Regions from separate parts of the Homo sapiens genome. Here all the other regions are linked to region 4. Evidence: promoter capture Hi-C in human tissues and cell types (Jung and others, 2019). All regions are on one chromosome and are shown on one strand. Each heading gives the region's core, a stretch centred on a gene start or on the middle of the fragment in contact. The rest is flanking DNA. Distances are from core to core; before and after follow the strand shown. Region 1 overlaps ARID1A (AT-rich interaction domain 1A). Region 2 overlaps ARID1A (AT-rich interaction domain 1A). Region 3 overlaps ARID1A (AT-rich interaction domain 1A). Region 4 holds the start of RPS6KA1 (ribosomal protein S6 kinase A1).

Region 1 (3,847 bases), core at 1,211-3,710, 240 kb before region 4:
CGTGTAGAAAAGAGGAGTGATGTGGCCATGACATCACCATGCTGGTGATTCCCTGAGTCATTGCCAGCTTCCCTGGCTATTTCTCTTCACTCCGCCAAAGGACCTTGTCTAACCTACTAAACCCTGTAATGCTGGTGCATGAGCTCCAGTCAGAGCCTCCCAAGTCCTGGGTGGGAAGGGGGTCCCAAATCTGGGATGCATTTTAGGAGTCTAGGAGCTCCTGTTCTAAAGCATCCAGCATGGTGTCACTCCTCAACTTCAAATGTTCTTCTAAGCTGATGAGTACAAAACTACTAGTAATTAATGTTTCCAATAGTTACCATTCCCAGCAGTAGATATCCCACTGCTGAGGCCTCCCCAGCTGATGAGTCATCTCAGGCACTCATTACACCCTCAGAGGTCAACACCAGGGCACATGTGTTTACACCCACCTTCCAGGCACCCTGGCCTTCTTCCCTCTCTAGGCTCACCCTAGGCCTCAGCCTCCTCTCAGAAAGGAGGGTGAGCAGAGCCACTCCCATCAGGGAGTTCCATTCATAACCCTTCCCCACTCCCTCCTTCCCATTCATTACCATCTCAGCTCCCTGGGGAATTCAGGGCTCTAGTCTGAGCTGCATTCTAAGGTGCTGACATCAATAGGCCAAAGCTCCCAGATGGCCCTGCCTTGCTGCCATTTATAAGTTCCACCGACTCCTCTTGTGCCCCTCCCATTCACCAGTTTACAAACATTTGGCAAGTTGTCAGCTGCACAACAAAAATTAAAACTTAAGAGCTGCCGTAGAGTACCTCCCAAGGGAGTTTCCACTGCCCACTCTCTAGTCAGCCAACCTGTTAAGCCCTGTGGTAGGGCAAGGCAGAGCACAGATCCTTGGCATATCCTGTTGGATAAGCCTCTTATTCATATCCTGAATAAGAGGCCAGGGCAACAGGCCCTCTCAGCCTTGGTGGGGCCGCTGACCCCATCCTTACCAGGAGAGGGAGGCTGGATCTTGGGCTGGGACTTCTTGGAATCAGCAGCTGCAAAGATGTCTGGGGGAGGGTCTTCTCCCCGTTCAATCTTGCATTCAAAGGCATAGAGACACTGGATATACTGCTTTTTCAAGGAGCTGGCAGCACTGCTTGATGTGCCCACATTGAGGTTGGTTGCAAGTTCCCGCCATTTTTTGTTCTTGTTGACCTGTATAACCAAACCAAAGGAGTCGAGGTATATCTCCCGCCTGGTTTTCCTGCCCATAAGCCCCAAGCCCCATCAGGCTGTAAGGTATTCATCTTTGTAGAACCACAGTTCTTAGGTAATTGAAAAAGTTAATCTTGCTTGGTGGATAGTCCACAAGAAGTGTTAAATCTGCAGCTGGCTTCATTTTACCCTCAGGATGTTCCACTGCAACTATCAGACTGTGCTTATTCACAACAGGGCAAATTTCACATTACTACTGGAACAGAATTCAGAGTCCGGTTTTTTAGTACGCTGCTAAAAAGTGGTGTACAAATCATCTGGATATCTAAATCCTATTTTATTTATTTATTTTTGAGACAGAAAAAATAAATCTCGCTCTGTCGCCTAGGCTGGAGTGCAGTGGCGTGATCTTGGCTCGCTGTAACCTCTGCCTCCCGGGCTCAAGCGATTCTCTTATCTCAGCCTCCCGAGTAGCTGGGATTACAGGTGTGCACCACCACGCCTGGCTAATTTTTGTATTTTTAGTAGAGACGGGGTTTCACCATGTTGATCAGGCTGGTCTCAAACTCCTGGCGTCAAGTCATCTACCCGCCTCAGCCTCCCAAAGTGTTGGGATTACAGGCGTGAGCCACCGCGCCTGGCCCTAAATCCTATTTTAGATGCACTAATAAAAACTAACATTTTATAAAATGGAGACTCATGATAATATCAGTGACCACCCTGCTTGACTTGCTTTGTCAAACTTGGGATTTACTCATATTTTTTTCTTGGGGTGGTGGCTCCCTGCAAATTTGACATTCTTGTGCCACTGCTCCCCTACATATCTCATTGACAAATAACCACAGGTCCCTTTCCCTTACCAGTCACTGTCCTGATGGTCCGGGTGTTCAGGGTCTTATTTATTTAGAGACAGAGTCTCACTCTGTCACCCAGGCTCGAGTGTAGTGACGCCATTTCGGCTCACTGCAACCTCCGCCTCCCGTGTTCAAGTGATTCTCCTGCCTTAGCCTCCCAAGTAGTGGGACCACAGGTGCCTGTCACCACACCCCACTGATTTTTATATTTTTAGTAGAGACAAGGTTTGGCCATGTTGGCCAGGCTGGTCTCAAACTCCTGACCTCAGATGATCCGCCCGTCTCGGCCTCCCAAAGTGCTGGGATTACAGGTGTGAGCCACTGCGCCTGGCCCGGGGCCTTATTATGACTTTTGTACCTCCCGAGCAGCCAACCTACAGTTCTGCCTCCTTCCCTCAGCTTCAGGGCACACTGACCAAGCCCATTCCCCAGATGCTCCCTACAATTAGTCTTTCTGCTCTAGCTGGACAGGTCTCCTTCTTCATGTATTCTTATGCTTATTCATCTACCATATGGTAAGCCTGTTCCCCCAAGGCCTGGGAACAAGGGTTTTCAAGTCCCTATACACAAAGGAAGTTCAATAGGTTGTAATGTCTGCTGATATGATACCTATGATACTAGAAAGAAGAGTTTAAAGAGGCACAGAGGGGGACAACCTAGAGGGGCAGAGGTGACTAGGAATACTTCTTAGAGTGGGTAACACCTGAGCTAAGTCTTCATGGTTGGAGATGGCCTTGGTGGGAAATATCTAGACTCTCTCCCATCTCCGTGGCATCTAGGCCAGTCTACTGGATTGGCCACTCTTCCACCTAAACCCTACTAATCCTTTAGATAAGCTCAAGATTCAGCTTTGCTTTCTTGGAGCCTTCACAAACTAACTTATAAATAGCACTCTTTTGCCCCTGAATTATCACTGCCTTTATAAAAGTTCAGTTACAATCACGGCATTTTAAAGGTTTGCATCCTTTTCCAATCTGGAAGACAGGCTCAGGCATTAGAATTCTCTCTGTACCTCATCCTAGGTTCAGTGAACCCTGAAGCCCACCCAATCAGAAGTGAGCGAAACCTAACCCAATGCTCCCTTTCCCTATAGACAGGGAAGGCTTGACTATGAGATCTGAGTATCAGGGAGAATGGCAGGAATATGCATGGAGTCACCTCAAAAGCCTTCCGTGGCTTTGCTTCTCATGCCAGTTATGTGGCAGTATGCACGTGTCTTATTTTGTTTTGTTTTCCTTTGTGGGGGAGGGGAATAAAGCCTGAAGGGAGAAGGAATTCATAACTGACTGTTGGCTGGCTTCATTCCAACCACTTTCTTTTCTGCTGGTGACAGCTGTTTTCCTCTTCTGATTTAGAAGGTTTGGAATAAATCCCTCCCTGCCACACCTCCCCGAGCTCAGCCACAAACTGATCCAACAGCAGGCTTCTGGTCTGGTGACTACAGAACATACACAGGAGGGAAGTCTGCAAGGCACAGTCTGCTGTCTGTCTGTGCTGCCTCACCTGTTTGCTTCCTGGGCTGAGTCTACAAAATTGTAAGGTATCAGAGTAGGCACAAGCTCTGGGTGGTGTCCAATTCAGGTTTTCATTTAAGTTTCCCATACAGAATAACTAAACACATAATTTCCTACTACTTCTTCCTTTATTATAAACTATTTCTACTAAGCAGTTCCTGAAATCCTATCTCTACTGGGAAGCTTCCAGGAATGGGAAGATCTACTTCTACTCTGGCTGCCTCTGTACCATCTTGCAGGCCGATTTATGTGGCAGAAACCTTGCTGAAAGCCAAAGTTATTTCTAACTTTTGACAGTCTAG
Region 2 (3,640 bases), core at 313-2,812, 210 kb before region 4:
TGATATTTTTTATATTTCTTTTTTTGAGACAGTCTCGCTCTGTCACATAGGCTGGAGTGCAGTGGCGCGACCTCAGCCCACTGCAACCTCCGCCTCTCGGGTTCAAGGGATTCTCCTGCCTCAGCTTCCTGAGTAGCTGGGATCACAGGTGCATGCCACCACGCCCAGCTAAATTTTTATATTTTTAGTAGAGATGGAGTTTCACCATATTGGTCAGGCTGCTCTCGAACTCCCGACCTCATGATCCACCCGCCTCAGCCTCCCACAGTGCTGGGATTACAGGTGTGAGCCACCGTGCCTGGCCTACCAGCTTGATATTTCATTTGAAAATTTTACTCTCAGCTCTCAGGGTCTCTGTGCTTCTAAACCATTAGACACATGAATCACTTAGAGATCTTATTAACAGTTAGATCCAATAAATCTAGGATGGGGCCTGAAAATCTACATTTCTAGCAAGCTTCCCGGTGATGTTGGTGCTTCTAGACAATGGACCACACTGAGTAGCAAGGATCTAACTGATTAAAGTTAGCACTGACCAGGACAGTATGTTCTAAGAAGACAGACACAGAACAGGGCTTGCTCTCATCCCACACAGGAACCAAATAACCAAACTCTAGTCAACGGTTCACTGTTTGAGGCGATTCCCTAGTTGGCTAGTTCCTCCAAGCAGGTCCTATAGGTTTGGCTATCTTTCCTACCACTCGCTCTTTCCACAGCTCATCTGTGCCTCCATCACAGGGATGTCTGGGAAAACAGAAGTAAAATGGAAATCCATTGACATTCCTTTTAGGACAAGTCTAGCAAATGCTAAATGGCAAAGAGTTGAGTTTTTTGCCTAAAAATGAAGAGAGGATCAGATTGTCCATGTCTTTCCTCTACTGGGTGGGATGCTGGAGGAAATATTTCACCTGAAATATCAGAGCTAGATTCAAATCTTGATTCTGACCCTTGGTTTTTCATATGTAAAACAGGAGTGGGTATTCTGTACCTTCCAATTCCTATCTTTTCAGAATAACTGATGTTGACTGTAGCTCCTTGCCTGGCCTTACTCCTGCCCTCTAAAATCTGGATTCTACAGGGACAGCATAGCTCCCTCGCATTTCCTCTTTCTAGACCAATGTAATTCCAAGATCTCAGCGTCTGAGAGCATTACAGAAGTAAAAATACGAAGGGTAATAGCTAAGATGTTAAGTGAAATCTAAAGAATGGCTCAGAAACTCAAGGGATAATTTGATAGACATTACAGATCCTAATTCTGTTCTCCACCTCCCTCCTGATATCGATAACATTCACTCCTACCTAACCTGAGGAAATGAGTATGATCCAATCTTCAACAACAGTCTTTAAGATTACCTTTTTTTCAGCCAAGGGTATAGCGTCCCTTAGAAATTAATCCAGTGGATGCCTTTGATTCCTTTTTCTCACAACTCCAGAAAGATGTGCCTGTTTATACCCTCCTAATATTCTGCCAGCACCTTCACTTTTCCCTCTTCCATCTGCCTTATACACATGCGGGTCTTTGGGATGAAGCGGAGGAATTGGACTGATTCAGCCAGACTCTCCTTTTTCTCAGTGCATTTCAAGAGTGCTCTTTCCCTTTCCCTTGCTCATTTCCTTTTCTCAAGCCCTCAGAAATAAGGCCTTTTCCTTATCTAAAAAGGATCCCAATAAAATGCTTTATGACAAACCCAACTACCTATTTTCTTTGAAATATAAATTTGACTTCGTCCCTCCTCCCTTGGCTTCCAGAAATATTACACAATCCTGGTCCTTCTCCGATCTCTCCAACTCTCTGTTGGCTGCTTCTACCTGATGGCCTCCGGCATCGTCCAGAGCTCCATCTGGCTTCTATCTCTAAACTCCAGTTTAGGAGGCCTGTTTCATTCTATGGTTTAACTATTAACTACCACACAGGTAACTCGCAAACTTGTATCCAGACTCAGGTCTTACCCAAGTTTCAGTTTCTTATCTCCAACTAGAAACTGGACATTTGTTTTCAGAAATCTTACTATATTATATTCCACAAAATAAATATGGAATTTAACTTTTCCTCAAAAATGAGACTCCCCCTGCCCACCAGTCAATCAAAATCTTTAAATATTCCACCACACAGAACCCACTTATTCTCAGTCCTGTATTCTTTCCTGCATGTTCCACATGTGGGAGCAGGTGGCTATGCAAATGAGACAGAAGGACCAGAACTCCATACCTCTTGCCAGAAGTAGTTCTACGGTTTAACTTATTCCACTGCTTTAAGACTCTCCCGTTTTCAAAGCATACTACAAACTAATGGATCATTTTTGTAAAACATTAGTTTTATCACATGATTGCCCCAGTTACCTATCTGCAAGCCCATAAGATCAGATCTAAATGGCTTAAGCTCAGCAGGATCCCTGTGATCTAGCTTTCCTTCCTGTTACTTCCCACCCCTGGAAGCTGACCAGCCCCCAAGTATCTATACTGCACCTCATCCCCATCCCTGCATGGCCTCTGTTCAAGCTGGACTTTCCCTTTGTAACTAACCACTTAAATACATCCACATCTAGCTCATACTGACTGAACTTCAACATGACTTCTTCCTTCAACTATTGAGACATAAATGGATCAGTGACTTCACCAAACTCTGACAGCACTCATTATAACATACAGGCACATGGTCTTCTGTTTTATGTCTATTTTACTAATGAAACACAGGAGGATCCTTTAGGAATCATCGTATCATATTCGGAATCATGGACCCAAGAGTTCAAATGACCTCAGAAGTCACACAAGTTCAACCCTTGTCAAATGTCTGTTTGTCTTCTACATAACACCCATAGCAAAAAGTGTGCCAGGTTTTACTCCAGGGACAGGAAACTTACCTACATCTCTCCTCATCCTCCAGATCCCAAAAAAACTTACTTGTATGTCACACTTGGACTTAAATCTACAGACAACACGTAGCCAGGTTTTAAAGCATTAACATAACTTGGCCAGGTTTTTTTTTTCTTTTTTTTTTTTTTTAAGATGATCACTCTGGTGATTATGCTGAGGACAGACTTGGAAGGAAAAGAGGAAGAAAAGAAACAGAACAGTCAGAAGTTTGTGGCAAGACACCAGGTGAGAGATAACAGGGACCCGAAAAAACAAAAGGCAGTGGAGAAAGAGAGGGGAAACCAGATTCAAAAGCAAAAACCATTTCTGTGGTAGACTAAGATTTGGTGACCAACTAAGTTTGGCCCCACTAAAGGAAGGGATCCAGTGATGAGCACCATAGAGCAGAGGAGCTCCCAGGGTGGTACTGGCAGGGCAAGGGCTCCGTTACCCAGGAATAAACTGCACTGAGGCCACAGCTACAGGAAGTCTAGTTTCTTTCAAGTCTCTTTTCTTTCTACCATTCTTAACCCACAGTGTGCCTTCCAAATAATCAAGAGTCAAACTACAGTGTAAATCACCACTATTATTCTAGTTACCGCTGTGGCTTCCTAGTCTAGTAATTTTTTTTCCTTCCCTTAAAGGTGACTACCTACTTCAGTCTCATTCCAATTGTGGTCTTCTGAACTGGCAGCATCTGTACCACTTCAGAGCTTGTTAGAAATGCAAATTCTTAGGTCCCAGCCCACACCTACTGAATCAGAATTTCTCAGGTAGAGGCAGTAAT
Region 3 (4,094 bases), core at 1,309-3,808, 180 kb before region 4:
TTCAGGACCAGCCTGACCAACACAGTGAAACCCCATCTCTACTAAAAATACAAAAAATTACCTGGGCGTGGTGGTGGGCACCTGTAATCCCAGCTACTCAGGAGGCTGAGGCAGAAGAATCACTTGAACCCAGGAGGCAGAGGTTACAGTGAGCCGAGATCACGCCACTGCAATCCAGCCTGGGCGACAGTGCAAGACTCCGTCTCAAAAAAAAAAAAAAAAAAAAAAAAAAAAAAAAAAAAGTGAAGGACTGTATCTTAAAGGCTGAATCTCACTCTCAACCCCAAAAGATCCCTCTTGAGAAAGAGAGGACCGGGGACCAGAGGACCAGATGCTGCCAGTTCTCACCAATGGAATCACAAGGCAGCTATAAACCAAGTGCCATGGCCATTCATCGGAAATCCAAAACAACAAAACCCTAAGTGGAAGGGATGGAAGGGAATGACAGGACAGAGCTCTAGGCACGATGTCAAATTGTTAACTAATGGCTTTTCAGTCTTTCACCCCATTTAAGAGTTTCAGGCTATTGTAAAAATAATGTCCTAAACAATCTTGGTGCCTGAGTAATTTATTTTGGAGAAGCAAAGTTAGTATTTTAGATTGTAATACCTTTGAAGAGTCAGACAAACCTTGTCTACCTTGTCAGACAAACCCAACTCTACCTTTTACCAGCTATTTTCCCTAGGGCAAATTTCTTATCTTACTCTATTTCCTCATTTGTAAAAGAGGAAGATTAATAATAGAACCCACCTCCTATACAGTTTTGAAGATTAAATTAGGAAATTCATCAAGAGGACTAAGCATAATGCTTAGCACATAATAAGTACTCAAATGCATGGTGGCCATCATTTGAAAGTCAGGATCCTTGCCAGGCACAGTGGCTCACGCCTGTAATCCCAGCACTTTGGGAGGTCAAAGCCGGCGGATCACCTGAGGTCAGGAGTTCGAGACTAGCCTAGCCAACATGGTGAAACCCCATCTCTACTAAAAATACAAACATTAGGCCGGGCGTGGTGGCTTATGCCTGTAATCCCAGCACTTTGGGAGGCCGAGACGGGTAGATCACGAGCTCAGGAGTTTCAGACCAGCCTGGCCAGCATGATGAAACCCCATCTCTACTAAAAATACAAAAATTAGCAGGGCGTGGTGGAAGGCGCCTGTAGTCCCAGCTACTCGGGAGGCTGTGGCAGGAGAATCACTTGAACCTGGGAGACGGAGGTTGCAGTGAGCCGAGATCACACCACTGGACTCCAGCCTGGGCGATAGAACAAGACTCCATCTCAAAAAAAAAAAAAAAAAAAAAAAAAATTAGCCAGCCGCGGTGGCGCATGCCTGTAGTCCCAGCTACTCAGGAGACTGAGGCAGGAGAACCCCTTGAACCCAGGAGGCGGAGACTGCAGTGAGCTGAAATTGCCCCACTGCACTGCACTCCAGCCTGGGTGACAGAGCAAGACTCCGTCTAAAAAAAAAAAAAAGTCAGGATCCTGGTGAGGATCTGTGACCCAAGAACAGATAAACTACCTACAGAATTGTTCCCCAAAAGCTTTGTAATATGGTTCTCTTTAGAAGCCTAAATTCCTAAACAAGCACAATGTTAGAAATCTGGAGACTAAAAGCCGGTTATCCAAACCTAAATTACCAAGAGTTTCACATAACGCTAGATCAACCTGTGAACTCCAACACCTTAGGACCAGAACAGAATGTTGTCCAAAGGGCAAGAGAAAAAGACATACATATTTGCCAAAGAGACACAGTAATAAACCAATTCCCAGCATTTCTGCCCTGTTCTCTAAGGACAACAGAAAGCAACAATGTCTACCCCAGACAGGAGAAATCACTGGGCAAGAAGAGCCCAAAGATATATCTGTTTCTTCCAAAAGGAAGCATCCAACACTATGTGGCCTTTAATCCCTCTACCACGTGGCTGAATTTGCACTTTTCTTAAAGTCAAAGTACACGGCAGTTGAGAGTAAACAGCTGGGCCCAAAGGCACTCATGCCCGGCAAGCACGTTGTGACCTCAAAGAAAACATGAGCAAAATAAAAACACCAAGCACACACCAAATGGGCTTTTAATTGACTGATATCACAACAACCCCCAAGCACCCCTGGTGCTAGATCTTAAGGGGAAAAGAAGGGTTCCTTTTAACAGAGATGCCTATAAACAAGCAAGCTGAAAACGAACAAGTTTAAGAGAGAAAAGCATACAAAAATCTTGGCTGCTAGTGATGAGCCATGGAAAATCATGAATCTGCCAGTGCCAAGGGAGGAGGAAGTCTAATATCTAACTTTGCAGACTTGGGAACATAAAAGCAACAAAGCCATAAGGAAGCCCAAATGCAAAAGAGAGAAAAAAAGGCACATGGCACATTTCCTCTTCATATGGGTAGCAATTCAAGCAGCGCTTTGGGCCTGCAGAGCACTTAGCTCAGTACCCAAAGCCCCTTAGTATTTATATCAACATAACTTCCTGGAGGGTGACAAAAATCTGTCCTGGATTACTGGGTGATTTCTAATATGTACCATGACCAACACTAAGTCAACATTTTAGGGATCAAATTTCCTACTCTGCAGCATGTTGGAATGCATTCTTGGCATTAGACTTCTTCCCATTCCAGTCCACCCTTAGAAAATGCAGAAGCCACTGGGAAATAGACTCAACCTGTCCCAAGATAATATTCCAGCTATGCACAAGTGACTAACAAAAACAAACAGAAGTTCATTCAGATGTCCCTTCACATTCAGTAAAAAACTAATTTCATCCATTTAAATGGAGAGGAGGGGTAATTTCAGGAAGAATACTCAAGGCTACTAAGTCAATATTCACCCGAACTTGGATTCCTCTAAAACCTGGGAATGATCAGAGTTCAAGCCCCTAAACACCTGTAATCCATAGGAGGTTAACTATGGTGCCCAATTCTGAGTAACTGAAAACCCACTTTTGCAAAATGCCAAAATGGCAAGGCAAAAAAAGTGGAAAAGGTATTTCTAAACCAGAATGTTTATCCAAGACTCCAGTACTTTCAGCAGGTCATGGACCATTACTTGAGGGGGGGGGAAAAAAAAAAAAGGCTGGGCGTGGTGGCTCACACCTGTAATTCCAGCACTTTGGAAGGCCAAGGTGGGTGGATCACACCCGAGGTTGGGAGTTCAAGACCAGCCTGGCCAACATGATGAAACCCCACCTCTACTAAAAATACAAAAATTAGCCGGGCATGGTGGTGGAAGCCTATAATCCCAGCTACTCAGGAGGCTGAGGCATGAGAATCGCTTGAACCTGGGAGGCAGAGGTTGCAATGAGCCAGATTGCACCACTGTACTCCAGTCTGGGTGACAAAGTAAGACTCCATCTCAAAAAAAAAAAAAGGTCTGCAGTACTTCTGTACTGGAGCAGTGTAACCAATCCTTCTCCAGGTAGAAGCATTACAGTGGCCTGGCACTGGACATGCCATGCATCTTCAGCTGTTAAGCATCCACTGATGATCCTTGACCGGTGAAGTGCCAAGGCCCAACCACAGATCGACCAGCAGGTAAAGAAACCAAAATCACTATATTCCAGAGGCTCCACAAGGATTAAGCATTGGTGAGCAGCATTTGTTAGCTGCTTGGCCATAGTAACCTAATAAAAAACAAATTTTTTTTTTTTTTTTGAGACAAGGTCTTGGCTCCATTGCCCAGGCTGGAGTGCACTGGCGTAATCATGGCTTACAACAGCCTCAACCTCCTGGGCTCAAGCAATCCTCCTGCCTCAGCTTTCTAAGTAAACTGCGACTACAGGCACGTACCACCACATCCAGCAATTTTTGTGTCTTGTAAAGATGGGGTCTCCCTATGTTAATAGCCTGGTCCCAAGGCTGGTCCTGGGCTTGGGCAATCCTCCCACCTTGGCCTCCCAAAGTGCTGGGATTATAGGTGTGAGCTACCGCGCCCGGCCAAAAACAGTATTAAAGGCCATTTCTATGAATAAATGGGCAGACTGCATATGTGCAGGCTTACCTAACCCATCAACCTCAATATAAGGTCTAACACAAGCAACTTGACTTGAACACAGCTCCCAGCTCCTCAGAAATAGCAGCCTAAGAGTCCCAACAGATA
Region 4 (4,205 bases), core at 1,453-3,952:
ATCCCTGAGCCTCTCTCCCACTTGGTGGAAGAGAGAGATCTTGGTTCCAATCCTGGCTCTGATATTAACACATAAGCCTGAGTTTTCAGTTGTCCCATCTGAAAACAGGGGTAATAATCCCTATCTTGAGAAGCTGTTGTGAGAATTAAAGTGGGGTGACATTCGTAAGGCAGAGTGGGTGGCACATAGTAAAGCTCTGTACGTGGCAGAACTGGGCCTGGGGACAAGGCTACTGCTTTCAACAGGGCTAAGCGAGGCCCAGGCAGAATCCTCACCCACGCTTCCCATAGATTACTCCACCTGGGCTGCACCCTGGGCCAGGCCCTGCCTCCCAGCGGCCCATTTTCAGCAGCATTAAGGGAGGGCAGGGCAGTCCAGATCCTAGGTCCCTGTGAAAAGTCCCCCACCAGCCCCTCACCTGCCTCCTTCCTGGCTAGGAGCTGCCAGCAGTGGTGGTGCCTGTACGTGCAGGTCAGGCGGCTGTATCGCTTACATGTCACCTGGGCTAAGAACAGCGAGGCCCTGTTCTCCAGTGAGAACAGCCCAACCTGCGCCGTGGCTGCCCTGTGGCTCCTGTTACCCAAACAATAACACCCAGTCGCCTGGCACCTCCAGGAGTGGGGGAGGGGGGACCAGACAACAGTACCCAGCGCTCTGCACCCTCTCAGGCCCAGGAAGTGGAGGCTAGAACCTAGCACTTGCCACTGGAGAAGCAGAGGCCCAGACAGGCTGAGGACTGACTGAGGATCACACATCGTTTCTGGAGCGAAGCTCCTGAGGAAATTGCGTCCCCCTGCCCCACCAATCCCAGGAAGTCCGCTGGTCTTCCCCTCTCACAGACCTGAGATGTTACAGAACTCAAAACTGAGATGAGTTTCCCAGTTAAACCTGGCTCCCTGGTGAAGCTGGCCCCTGCCTCAGGATTCCCTAAAGAGAAGCAGGAAGTGGTGCCCCAGGATCGAGCTCCTGGGTGTCCACCCTCCCTATCAGCATAAAGTCACTCCCCAGCCTCTCCCAGCCCTACCTTCTCCTTTGGAGGCCTGGTCCCAGGGGCGTGCCTGGGCAAAGGAATCCACCTCTGAGCACCACCCCCAGGACCTTGCGCCCCGGTCCTAGTAGCGGGGTGGCAGTACAGGGGCTGCAGAGGGCAGTGTTCCTCACCTCAGAGGGTGAGTCAGCGAGAGAACCTCTGAGCAGCCTAGCAGTGCCTGTAAAATCCCCATGGCAGGAATCCCAGAGCAATTTACTCCAAATTGCTCCTTCAGGTTGGTTACCTAATCCTGCCGCGCCCACCCTCCAATAGCCAGTGTCGGCCATCCCTTTAAAGGGGCAGCACACCCTGGGGGCTGGGGACCCTGGGTGCTCACCCTGATCTAAGCCTGTGGTCCTGAGAGGCAGGACACTTGGTGGCTGCCCTAGGTAAGAGAGGGCAGAGGAGGGGACTGAGACAGGGGCTCCAGGCCCAAGCTGGGAGAAAGTCATCTCAGCTCCTGGGCTCAAATGAGGTCTCCATTCCCTCCCTGCATACCCCCAACAACCACCTGGGAAGGAGAATATCACCTGCTTCCTTCCCAGCAAGAGGTTAAGGAGGAAGTTTTCCACCAGCTCATTCAGGGGCTTGACCTTGACCCTGGGGTCAAAAGGCACAGGAAGAGGTGGCCTTCTGCACGCTTAGGGACTGGAGCCACAGAGCCCTCAAGGGAGGTCAGGAGCTGCTTCTGAGAGAGAAGGAGCTGGGTTGTCTGGGGAGTCTGGGCTGGCAGAAGCCAAACTCCCCAAGGGCCCAGCCCTTCCTACCGGAAGGGGCATAAGAAGGGAGGCAGGCACCAAGGTCCCCCCACGCCCTGCCAGGAATCATCTTCACAAGGTCTAAGGGCTCTTCCCCACTCTCGTCTCCACAGCCTGGGGTAGGGCACACAGGTGTCCTCTGGCCCTAGCCTCAGGGCAAAGAAAACCAGGAGTTCCAGCCCCAGACGGGTGGTGCCATCCCACACTCCGCATCCGCCAGGGGTCAAGAGGAGCAATCCTTCTAGGCTCAGCAGCGGTGAAGCCAGAAGCAGGGAGCTCTTGGCGGAGGGCCCTGGGAGAAGTGGGGGTCCCATAACCCCTGTCTCTGGTAGAATCCCAGACATCTGGCACTGAAGATCTCCCCGTCTGCATTAATGGAGGAAGCTCCGACAGCTCTGGACAGATGCCGGGACGGGTCCTAGGTGTGGGGTGAAGGCGACCAGATCTCAGCGCCCCATAGGATCCCCTCTCCTGGCTATGGCGGGGAGGTAGTCGGCGCTTGGCGGAACTGTCCCTCGCACACGCACACCCGGGCATAGGGGGGTGGAGCCGGACAGTGGGCAAGAGATCGGAGGGCACTCGCGCCCTCGCGGGCGCCCGCCGGACTGCAGCGGCGCTTCGGGCCGCCCCGCCCCTGTGAGGATCCGGGCTCGCCGGCCGCGGGCGCCCGTCCCCCGCCCCGCTCACTCACCTCCGGGTCCAGAGGCACTAGCTCCATGAGCGGCCAGGGCTCCTTGAGCTGGGCGAGCGGCATCTCGCCGCCGCCAGGTCACCCGCGCTCCTCCGGCGGCCCCGGCTGCGCCGCCTCCCGGGTCCTGGGGTCCCTGGCTCTGCGACCCGAACCGCCGCGCCCCCCCGAGCCCCTCGCGCTCCGGCTGGGCCGTCCGCCGCCGCCGCCGCGGCACTAGCACTTCGGCTCCCTCCGTCACCCGGCGCCGCCGCGCCCATTGGCTACCTGCGCGGGGGCGGAGCCGGAGAAGCCCCGCCCCAGCCCCCGCGGCGCGGCATTCCCAGCGCGGACCCCCGCCCCCGCCGCGCCCCGAGGGCCGGCCCCGCCCCTGCCGCGAGCCCCCGGCCCGCGCTCGGCTCCGCCGGAGAGGCCCTGCTGGCTCCTTCCCTTCCAGTGGTGTACCCCTGGACACACCACACCAGGGCCACCGTTCTCCCCCGCTCAGCTCTTTTGGAATCCCAGCCCAGATGTTCCTTCTCCTTCCAACGGGAGAGAAGCACCTTATCCCCGACCCCAGCACACACATTCACACTGGGTTCCTGGGCCTGATCTAGGCTGAGGCTTGGAAGGAGCCTGAGACCCACTCCCCTTAGGCCCTCAACTCACCAGGCCCTAGAGATCCCCTATCCTCTAATTTCTACCCCGCCCTGAAGCTAACACTGTGATCTCCGGGCGATCTCAGTGCCCCAGGCCAAGATGGGCATCAGCAGTTGTTACCACCATCAGGACCCATAGTGCCACCACAGAGTGATTGATTGATCGATTGATTTTACATAATGTATATAAATATTACATATATAAATAAATATGTATAAATAAATATTATATATATGCACATATATGTATGTATGTGTGTATATAGTGAGAGAGAGAGAGACACGAAGTTTCGCTTTGTTACCTAGGCTGGTCTCTGACTCCCCGGCTCAAGTGATCCTCCTGCCTCGGCCTCCCAAAGTGCTGGGATTACAGGCATGAGCCACCGCGCCCGGCCAAGAGTGATTTCTTAATATGCGTTTTTGCAATCTGTGCTCTGCCCTATCACTTGAAGGGGGTCCTTTCAGGTCAGGTCTCCCTGGAGTCACCTGCAGCCCCAGCTCTGGACTAGTTTGGGTTTGCGACTCTCTGAGGAGGGACCAGGCTCCCAGGATGAACCGAGGCTTGGTGGGACTTGGAGTGAAAGGCCAGGGAGACTGGTTGCCCCAGAGAGATTCAGCCTCCACCTAAAGAGCCTTAGGGGTCCGGGTGTGCTGAGATGTATTCACATGTGAGGAGTGAGCTTGCTGGAGGGACAAGCTTGCTGGTTTCGCAGGAAGACTGGTCAGTTATTTGCAAAGCTGTTCTAAGGCAGGGGAATGGGAAGGAATGTTTATCAAAAGCTTCCTGCGAGCCATGTGATTTCCTTGAATGATTACCACCACCTAGTTTACAAATCCTGAAACAAGCTCGGAAAGATGAAGTGACTTACCCAAGGTCACACAAGAGGTTGAGAACAGACTAGGGCTTAAAAAAATCAAAGTGTCACACCTGTAATCCCAGCACTGGGAGGCCGAGGCGGGCGGATCACGAGGTCAGGAGATTGAAACCATCCTGGCTAACATGATGAAACCCTGTCTCTACTAAAAATACAAAAAATTAGTAGGGCGTGGTGGCAGGCACCTGTAGTCCCAGCTACTCGGGAGGCTTAGGC

What was found. Contacts are between HindIII fragments. The study calls those that stand out against the background at their distance.
Region 1: a contact is called between a fragment that was not itself captured here and the fragment with the promoter of RPS6KA1 in region 4, in 2 of the 25 tissues and cell types used here (dorsolateral prefrontal cortex and mesenchymal stem cells).
Region 2: a contact is called between a fragment that was not itself captured here and the fragment with the promoter of RPS6KA1 in region 4, in 1 of the 25 tissues and cell types used here (IMR-90 fibroblasts).
Region 3: a contact is called between a fragment that was not itself captured here and the fragment with the promoter of RPS6KA1 in region 4, in 3 of the 25 tissues and cell types used here (IMR-90 fibroblasts, dorsolateral prefrontal cortex and spleen).

The regions. Positions count from the first base shown.
Region 1 is chr1:26,768,449-26,772,295 of GRCh38, reverse strand. It overlaps ARID1A (AT-rich interaction domain 1A), which reads right to left. Exons shown (of 20, transcript NM_006015.6): 12 at 970-1,177. Among named protein-coding and RNA genes, the nearest start is that of PIGV, 18 kb to the left of the region's middle. RefSeq lists an enhancer at 1-122. The HindIII fragment of the contact is 7,519 bases long and covers 1-3,847 here.
Region 2 is chr1:26,739,353-26,742,992 of GRCh38, reverse strand. All of the region lies in intron 4 of ARID1A (AT-rich interaction domain 1A), which reads right to left. Among named protein-coding and RNA genes, the nearest start is that of ARID1A, 45 kb to the right of the region's middle. RefSeq lists a silencer at 3,258-3,307. The HindIII fragment of the contact is 4,361 bases long and covers 1-3,640 here.
Region 3 is chr1:26,704,415-26,708,508 of GRCh38, reverse strand. All of the region lies in intron 1 of ARID1A (AT-rich interaction domain 1A), which reads right to left. Among named protein-coding and RNA genes, the nearest start is that of ARID1A, 10 kb to the right of the region's middle. RefSeq lists an enhancer at 594-1,093. The HindIII fragment of the contact is 8,241 bases long and covers 1-4,094 here.
Region 4 is chr1:26,528,258-26,532,462 of GRCh38, reverse strand. It overlaps RPS6KA1 (ribosomal protein S6 kinase A1), which reads right to left and starts at 2,702. Exons shown (of 22, transcript NM_002953.4): 1 at 2,480-2,702. The coding sequence starts at 2,542. It overlaps LOC124903884 (a long non-coding RNA gene), which reads left to right and starts at 1,065. Exons shown (of 2, transcript XR_007065558.1): 1 at 1,065-1,265; 2 at 1,902-3,343. RefSeq lists enhancers at 274-1,185, 1,186-2,096 and a silencer at 2,338-2,817. The HindIII fragment of the contact is 11,905 bases long and covers 1-4,205 here.